Regions from separate parts of the Homo sapiens genome. Here region 2 is linked to region 1. The links are contacts of gene promoters, found by promoter capture Hi-C in blood cells and fetal thymus (Javierre and others, 2016). All regions are on one chromosome and are shown on one strand. The core of a region is centred on a gene start or on the middle of the fragment in contact, and the rest is flanking DNA. Distances in the headings are between cores, read along the strand shown.

Region 1 (3,656 bases), core at 807-3,306:
AGCCTGACCAACATGGTGAAACCCCGTCTCGAGCGGGGTGCGGTGGCTCACGCCTGAAATCCCAGCACTTTGGGAGGCCGAGGCGGGCGGATCACGAGGTCGGGAGATCGAGACCATCCTAGCCAACATGGTAAAAACACAAAAATTAGCCAGGTGTGGTAGCGCGTGCCTGTAGTCCCAGCTACTCGGGAGGCTGAGGCAGGAGAATACCTTGAACCCGGGAGGCGGAGTTTGCAGTGAGCCGAGATCGCGCCGCGCCACCCCACTGCACTCCAGCCTGGCGACAGAGCAAGACTCCCTCTCAAAACAAACAAACAAACAAACAAACAAAAAACAAACCCCGTCTCTACTAAAAATACAAAAAAAATTAGCCGGGCGTGGTGGCGGGCGCCTGTGGTACCAGCTACTCAGGAGCCTGAGGCAGAGAATTGCTTGAACCCGGGAGGCCGTGGTTGCAGTGAGCTGAGATCACTCCACTGCACTCCAGCCTGGGCGACAGAGTGAGACTTCATCTCAAAAAAAAAAAAAAAAAAAAAAAAAATGTAGGTTTGGATGCCTTCCACCCAACTTCTTCCCCCACCTCCAGGAATTCAAGGAGTCACTCAACAGCCCCCTGAGGCTTGAGAAAAATGTTCCTTGGCCCTATGGGCACCATTCTGCTTGTTGCAACCCATGCTCCCGGAAGGGTCCCCAAGTCCGAGGGAGCCACACAGCTGCAGAAGCCGACAATCTGGATACAAGCACGCCCCCATGCAACCCACAACCCAGGGATGTCTAACTCCAGGCAAGCCCTTCTCAACTCACCAACTTGGGTCCCCAGGCCCCAAGGCTACTGACCCGAGTCGCACGGCCCTAGCCGTCCCCCCCCCCACTATCAAGACCAAGTCTGGATGTCTACCCACAAACAATCCTCCCCCACAAACCCGGGTCCTAGTGGCCAAGCTGCACCATCACCACCACAGTGCACCAGCCATCCACAAGAGCCCTAATAACTGGACTGAGGTTGGGCACGGTGGCTCACGCCTGTAATCCCAGTACTTTGGGAGGCCGAGGCGGGGGGATTACTTGAGGTCAGGAGTTCGAGACCAGCCTTGCCAACATGGTGAAACCCCGTCTCTACTAAAACACAAAATATTAGCCGGGCGTGGTGGCGTGCGCCTGTAGTCCCAGCTACTCGGGAGCCTGAGGCAGGGGAATCACGCCACTGCACTCCAGCCTGGGCGACAAGAGCGAAACTCTGTCTCAAAAAAACAAAACAAAACAAAAACCAAAAAATTAGCCGGGCGTGGTGGCGGGTGCCTGTAATCCCAGCTGCTCGGGAGGCTGACGCGGGAGCATGGCTTGAACCCGGCGGCTGGGGTGGGGCGCGGAGATTGCAGTGAACCGAGATTGCGCCACTGCACTCCAGCCTGGGCGACAGAGAGAGACTCTGTTTCAAAAATAAATAAATAAATAAATAAAATTTAATAAATAAACAAATAAACAACCCGACTGATGCCCAAGCCGCGTGCCTCCCACTAATGGGGAAGTTTGCTCCAACCGAGGATATCATGTCCTCCAAAGGCACATTTGCTGGCCCAGAGACCTCCGAGGCGCGATGGTGGGGAGGGGATGGCGGGATACTAGTGGCAGGATGCTGTCTGGGTACCCCAGGCAGAGCCCACTCAGCGGCCCCCGAAGTACCGGGGACGCACCTGCGAAGTAGCTCGGGAAGTCGGTCCCAGGCCTGCACTGGCCCCTCCAGGTCAACATACTGGGCCCAAAGTCCCGCCAGAAGCACGCGACAACGCCAACGCCCCCTCCCCACCAGAGGACCTCCGCCAAGACCTCTCTCCGGGGTGGACCACGCACGCCCAGACCCCACAGCCGAAACTCAAAACACCAAGGAACATGTGGCCACGACATGGACTGCCCATGCCAGCTTTCCCGACCTTCCTTCCAGTGGAAGGCCCGCGAAAGCGGGGACCACCTCCGGGCTAGCTCACCAGAACTGTGAAAGGACACTCACCACGCACCAGGCGACGATGCCGGAACGCGGAAGTACGCGAGCCGGACTGCCCCTGGGCACGGAACTACACTACCCAGACTGCCACGGGGCGCGCAACTACCCTACCGTGGATGCCCTGGAGCGAGGGACTACAACATCCAGAATGCTGCGAGGGGCGGGACCGCAGCATCCAGGAGAAATTGTGAAAAATCAGAAAGTAAAATCTAACTTTCGGGTCTATGAGAAGGGTGGTCAGGTGAGCAGTAAGTCTTCTTTAACTTTTTATACGGTCCTTCTAATTTTTTTTTTTTTTAAAAAGATGTTACATGTCCTCCATCCTGCAAATTCACACCTGTGATTGTACACCCCTGAACTTTATCTACTTACTTATTTTTTGAGAAGGGGTCTTGCTCTGTCGGCCAGGCTGCAGTACAATGGTGTGATCATAGCTCACTGCAGCCTCAAACCCCTGGCCAAGCAATCCTCTCACCTCAACTTTCTGAGTAGCTGGGAATACAGGTGCATAGCACCACACCGGGCTAATTTTTTGTTTTGTTTTTTAGAATCTGGGTCTCGCGGCCGGGCGCGGTGGCTCACGCCTGTAATCCCAGCACTTTGGGAGGCTGAGGCGGGCGGATCAGAGGTCAGGAGTTCGAGAGCAGCCTGGCCAATGTGGTAAAATCCCGTCTCTACTAAAAATACAAAAATTACCTGGGCGTCGTGATGGGCGCCTGTAGTCCCGGCTACTCAGGAGGGTGAGGCAGGAGAATCACTTTGAACTCGGGAGGTGGAGGTTGCAGTGAGCCAAGATCGCACCACTGTACTCCAGCCTGGACAACAGAGTGAGATTCCTTCTCAAGGGGGAAAAAAAAAAAAAAGAATCTGGGTCTCGCTATGTTGACCAGGCTGGTCTGGAACTCCTGGCCTCAAGCAATTTTCCCACTTCAGGCTCCCAAAGTGCTGGGATTACAGGCGTGAGCCGTCCTTGTGGCCCAGGCTGCCTTTCGAGTTTATTTAGGGCCCTCTAGCCAGAGGTGGTGAGATTGGCAGTAACTCAAATTCCAACTGCTGGGATAGGTGATTCTCCTCGGGCTAAGGCTGGTGTAAATACTCCCTCCATGCGTGAGAATCAGCTGTGTTTGATCCAGTTTTGCTTTCTGGTATAACAGGGCAGCACTGAGTTCAATGCAATGTCTCATCATTGCTGTGCTTGCCGTCTCCCAAGAACATAGATTCTCTCTCCGCACCACAGAGCCACTGCTGGGGGATGGGTCAGGGGCATTGGTGATTCAAGACTGTCTTTCCTACCTTTTCAGTGCCTCTTTCAGTCATATGAAGTAAAAACCAGGTACTGCGAGTGCTTACCTGATTTTTGGTTCTTGTGAAGGTGCTTTTGTGTGTAAATAGTTGTTAACTTGTTTTTCTTACAAGGGGGAATGATCAGTGGAGCCTTCCATTCCACCATCTTGCTCCACCTCCCACCCCCATGTTTTAAATGACAGTGTGTATGAATGTACTTCTAAAAATGCCAAAAATACTGGGGTTTTTTTTCCTGTTATAAAGAAGAAGATTCTGAAGTTTTTTTTTTAATTCCAATTGATTACAAGAAGATAAGGAAAAACTAAACTTGAGGACATTTAACACTATAGCAATTAAAGTTATCTTACTA
Region 2 (3,686 bases), core at 786-3,285, 2.6 Mb before region 1:
GGCTAAGGACATGAATAGACAATTCTCAAAAAAGATATACAAATGGCCAACAAACATATGAAAAAATGCTCAACATCACTAATGATAAGAGAAATCCAAATCAAAACCACCTTACTCCTGCAAGAATGGCCATAATCAAAAAATCAAAAAATAGTTGATGCTGGCATGGCTGCAGTGAACAGGGAAAACTTCTACACTGCCGGTGGGAATGTAAACTAGTACAACCACAATGGAAAACAGTGTGGAGATTCTTTAAAGAACTAAAAGTAGAACTACCATTGGATCCAGCAATCCCACTACTGGGTATCTACCCAGAGGAAAAGAAGTCATTATATGAAAAAGATACTTGCACATGCATGGTTATAGCAGCACAATTTGCGATTGCAAAAACGTGGAACCAACCCAAATACCCATCAATCAACAACTGGATAAAGAAACTGTGGTATGTATCTGATGATATACTACTTAGCCATAAAAAGGAATGAATTAATGGCATTTGCAGCGACCTGAATGAGATTGGAGACTATTATTCTAAGTGAAGTAACTCAGGAGTGGAAAAACCAAACATCGTAGTTCTCACTCATAAGTGGGAGCTAAGCTATGAGAATGCAAAGGCATAAGAATAACACAATGGGCTTTGGGGACTTGGCGGGGAATGGCGGAGGGCAGCGGGGCAAGGGATAAAAGACTACAAATGGGGTGCAGTGTATACTGCTCAGGTGATGGGTGCACCAAAATCTCACAAATCGCCACTAAAGAACTTACTCATGTAACCAAACACCATCTGTTCCCCAATAACCTACGGAAATAAAAAACAATCAGCAAAAAGCAAGAAAATTCGTTAATGCGCATGGAAACCTAAGATAATTAACATTAAATTTAAATATGTTGAATCAATAAGAGAATTCGGCAAGAAGCAATGTTAAGGGATAAAAACCAAAAGCTTTTCTCTAACACCTGCAGCACCGGGCTCGACCCGCCTTAGAACCCTCACGCCTGGGGGCGCCAGGACAGGGCTCACAGGTCAATGGGTCGGGTAGGCTGTAAAGAGACAAGGTGGAGGTTCCAGGTTGAAAATGTATAAAATTGTAAAGTAAATTCAAAGTTATATCATTTCAATGCTAAATACTTCAGTAGTGATCCCTTTTTTTAAAAAAAAAATTTCTACAAAATTCTTAATTTTTTTTCACAGTTCACAAAAGTAATGGTACTTTTTTTCAATATTTGCAATTCCCAATCCATATTCAGCTTCCCAATTGTCTCCGAAAGTCTTACGGAAAAAAAAAATGTTGGTTCAACCGGGAACCAATGGAGGGCTACTCTTTGTATTTGTCAGTAGCGTTTAAGTTTTAACCTTTAACTTCTCCCTGTTCTTGGAGAGCCTGAGCGGGAGACTTCATAAAAACTCCATCCCCGCCAATTCTGAATCGCCGAAACGTGAGGAGTCACGTCGAAGGCGGACGCAAGAGCTTATGGGAAATGTAGTCCTGAATGAGTCTGGTTCGCCGCGCAGCACTCTGGGATGGGGCTCCTGGGCTCCTTCTGCGCCTGTGCAGCCAGAGCCCCGCCTCCTCATTTGGGTTCTCGAGACTCCCGGGAAGCGGTTTGGGAAGCTCGGGGGTCGGCTCGGAAAGTAGAGGGGGCGCAGCTGGGGCGGGAGGACAGCGTTTGTGCCCGGAAGCGGGAGAGGAAGCGGGAAGTTTGTGGGATCCCCGCCCCCTGTGTCAGTGGATGCGACCGGGCGGGCCCTCGGCCTTCCCGGCCGCTGGAGAGGGACTTCGGCCGCTGGCTCCCGGGGCGGCTGAGGCTGAGCGTTGGTCCGGAGCAGGTGCCGGGTGCGGGCCGCGGTGTGCGGGACCGGAGCCCGGCGCGAGCGGCGGCGGGGGTGGGGAAAGCGCATTTGTAACGCGGGCGACAACGTGCCCGAAATCCCCGGACGGTGGGTCTGCATCGAGACCCCGAGCTCTGGAGCTGGAAAAACCCGGGTAAGTTCCATCTCTGTCAACTGGAAGCCGAGGCGAATGTAGGGACGTGGATGAGAGTCAGGTTTCTCATCTGAAAGTGAGGGTATTAATAATGACTGCTTCATGGCGTTGGTTTAAAACTTTAAGTCACCACCTGTAAAGCAAACAGCCGACTGTAGGCTACTAAGCCATGAGCGGACTGCTGCTGTTATATTTAGAAGACACTTTGTTCCATTCGTTGGGTGCCTATGTATACCTCACAACCACATCTGCATTAAATATAACTGAGGCTCAGGTCACAAGCTAGCAGTGAGGGAGCTGGGGTTCAAAGGCAGGTGTGATTTATTTCCCGTTTCAGGCGCTAATATCACACCTGCCTAAAACCAGCATTGCAGCCTTCACAGCACTTAGCAGAATGTCATGTCCCCAAATACTCAGGGAGTGGATGTAGATGGAATCTTACCATGTGTCAAATGTAGTCTGGATTTCTGGTGTGTCTTCAGATCTCTTGGGTCAGACAGGTTCCTGGCCCCTTCTGCATTGTCAGGGTGTCTCTCTTTTAAGTCTGATGTAAAGAATTCTAAGAGTCAGATTTTTGCCACTAACATGGTTTCTCAGGTCAGGTCGCAGGCTCCTTGAACAGAGCAGCCCTTGCGAGGTGGGAAGCAGGGGTCTCTGTGAACAGTTTTACCTGGAAGAGAACACCTCTCAGACCTAGGCCTCCCTCCCGAGCTTCAGAGCAGAGGCAGAAGAGCCCACAGAGGAGCAGATCCTAGATGTGTATGGTCAGAAGCAGTTCTTGATCCTCCTTCCCAGAATGAGCCAGACTTGGTGAAGCCTCCAGAAGCCACCACACAATGGGTGACAGTGGGTGGTTTGGGCCAGCTTTGAGAAGAGCAAAATGGGCTAGGTGGTGGCCAGGGACAGGCTGCTCAGGAAAGGCCACATCATTGCATAGGTCTGAGGGTAGGGGTAACCGGAGATTCTGTCCCCAGATCCCAAAGTAGCCCCCAGTCGCTTTGTTCTCCACTCTTTACAGATGCCATACTGCTGTTAACATATGTGACACTGGAGACTTTGTCCCTACCTCATAGAATCCCATGCATGATGATACATGAAGGGTTTTCCGTGGCTATCTACTTCTGATTCTTTTGAAAGCTTTAAAGACATTGGGCATGAAAGGTTCAGTGAGTTTCCGGGGATCCCTCGTTTGTGGTAGAGCCAGGAGGAAAACAGTTCCGTTCATTCTTTCACAGGTGAGTCACCAAAAGCATCTTATCCAAAGGGCCTTTTGAGAAATACATCCCAGTTAAAACATCTAAAACTCTTTGCCTTAAAGTATCTCATCTCTTTTATAAGACTTTCTGTGGATTGTCTATACCAAGGGTAAATAATATTACTAAGAAAAATAGTTAAATGATGCACACTGAATATTTTTCTGCTAAGTTAATTTTGTGTTTTGGAGACAGAGTCTCATCCTGTTGTCCAGGCAGGAGTGCAGTGGCACAAACATGGCTCACTGCAGCCTCTACCTCCTGGGCTCAAGTGATCCTCCTGCCTCAGCCTCCCAAGTAGCAGGGACCACAGGCGCATGCCACCACACCTGGCTAATTTTTTAAGTTTTTATTTTCTGTAGAGACAAGGTCATGCCATGTTGCCCAGGTTGGTCTTGAACTCCTGAGCTCAAGCTGTCCTCCCTCTTTGGCCTCCCGAAGTGCTGGG

Evidence for each region. Contacts are between HindIII fragments. The CHiCAGO score rates a contact against its expected background, and 5 or more counts as called.
Region 2: a fragment that was not itself captured here is called in contact with the fragment with the promoter of ZNF169 in region 1 in 2 of 17 cell types (fetal thymus and naive CD8 T cells); the score reaches 6.1 in fetal thymus.

The regions. Positions count from the first base shown.
Region 1 is chr9:94,257,698-94,261,353 of GRCh38, reverse strand. It overlaps ZNF169 (zinc finger protein 169), which reads right to left and starts at 2,056. Exons shown (of 5, transcript NM_194320.4): 1 at 2,009-2,056. LINC02603 (long intergenic non-protein coding RNA 2603) reads left to right here and starts at 2,043. Exons shown (of 3, transcript NR_160773.1): 1 at 2,043-2,243. RefSeq lists enhancers at 599-1,244, 1,574-1,703, 1,245-1,891, 1,734-2,053, 1,892-2,537. The HindIII fragment of the contact is 11,618 bases long and covers 1-3,656 here.
Region 2 is chr9:96,852,387-96,856,072 of GRCh38, reverse strand. It overlaps ZNF782 (zinc finger protein 782), which reads left to right and starts at 1,559. Exons shown (of 6, transcript NM_001001662.3): 1 at 1,559-1,985; 2 at 3,004-3,220. RefSeq lists silencers at 1,787-1,856, 2,137-2,226. The HindIII fragment of the contact is 2,179 bases long and covers 946-3,124 here.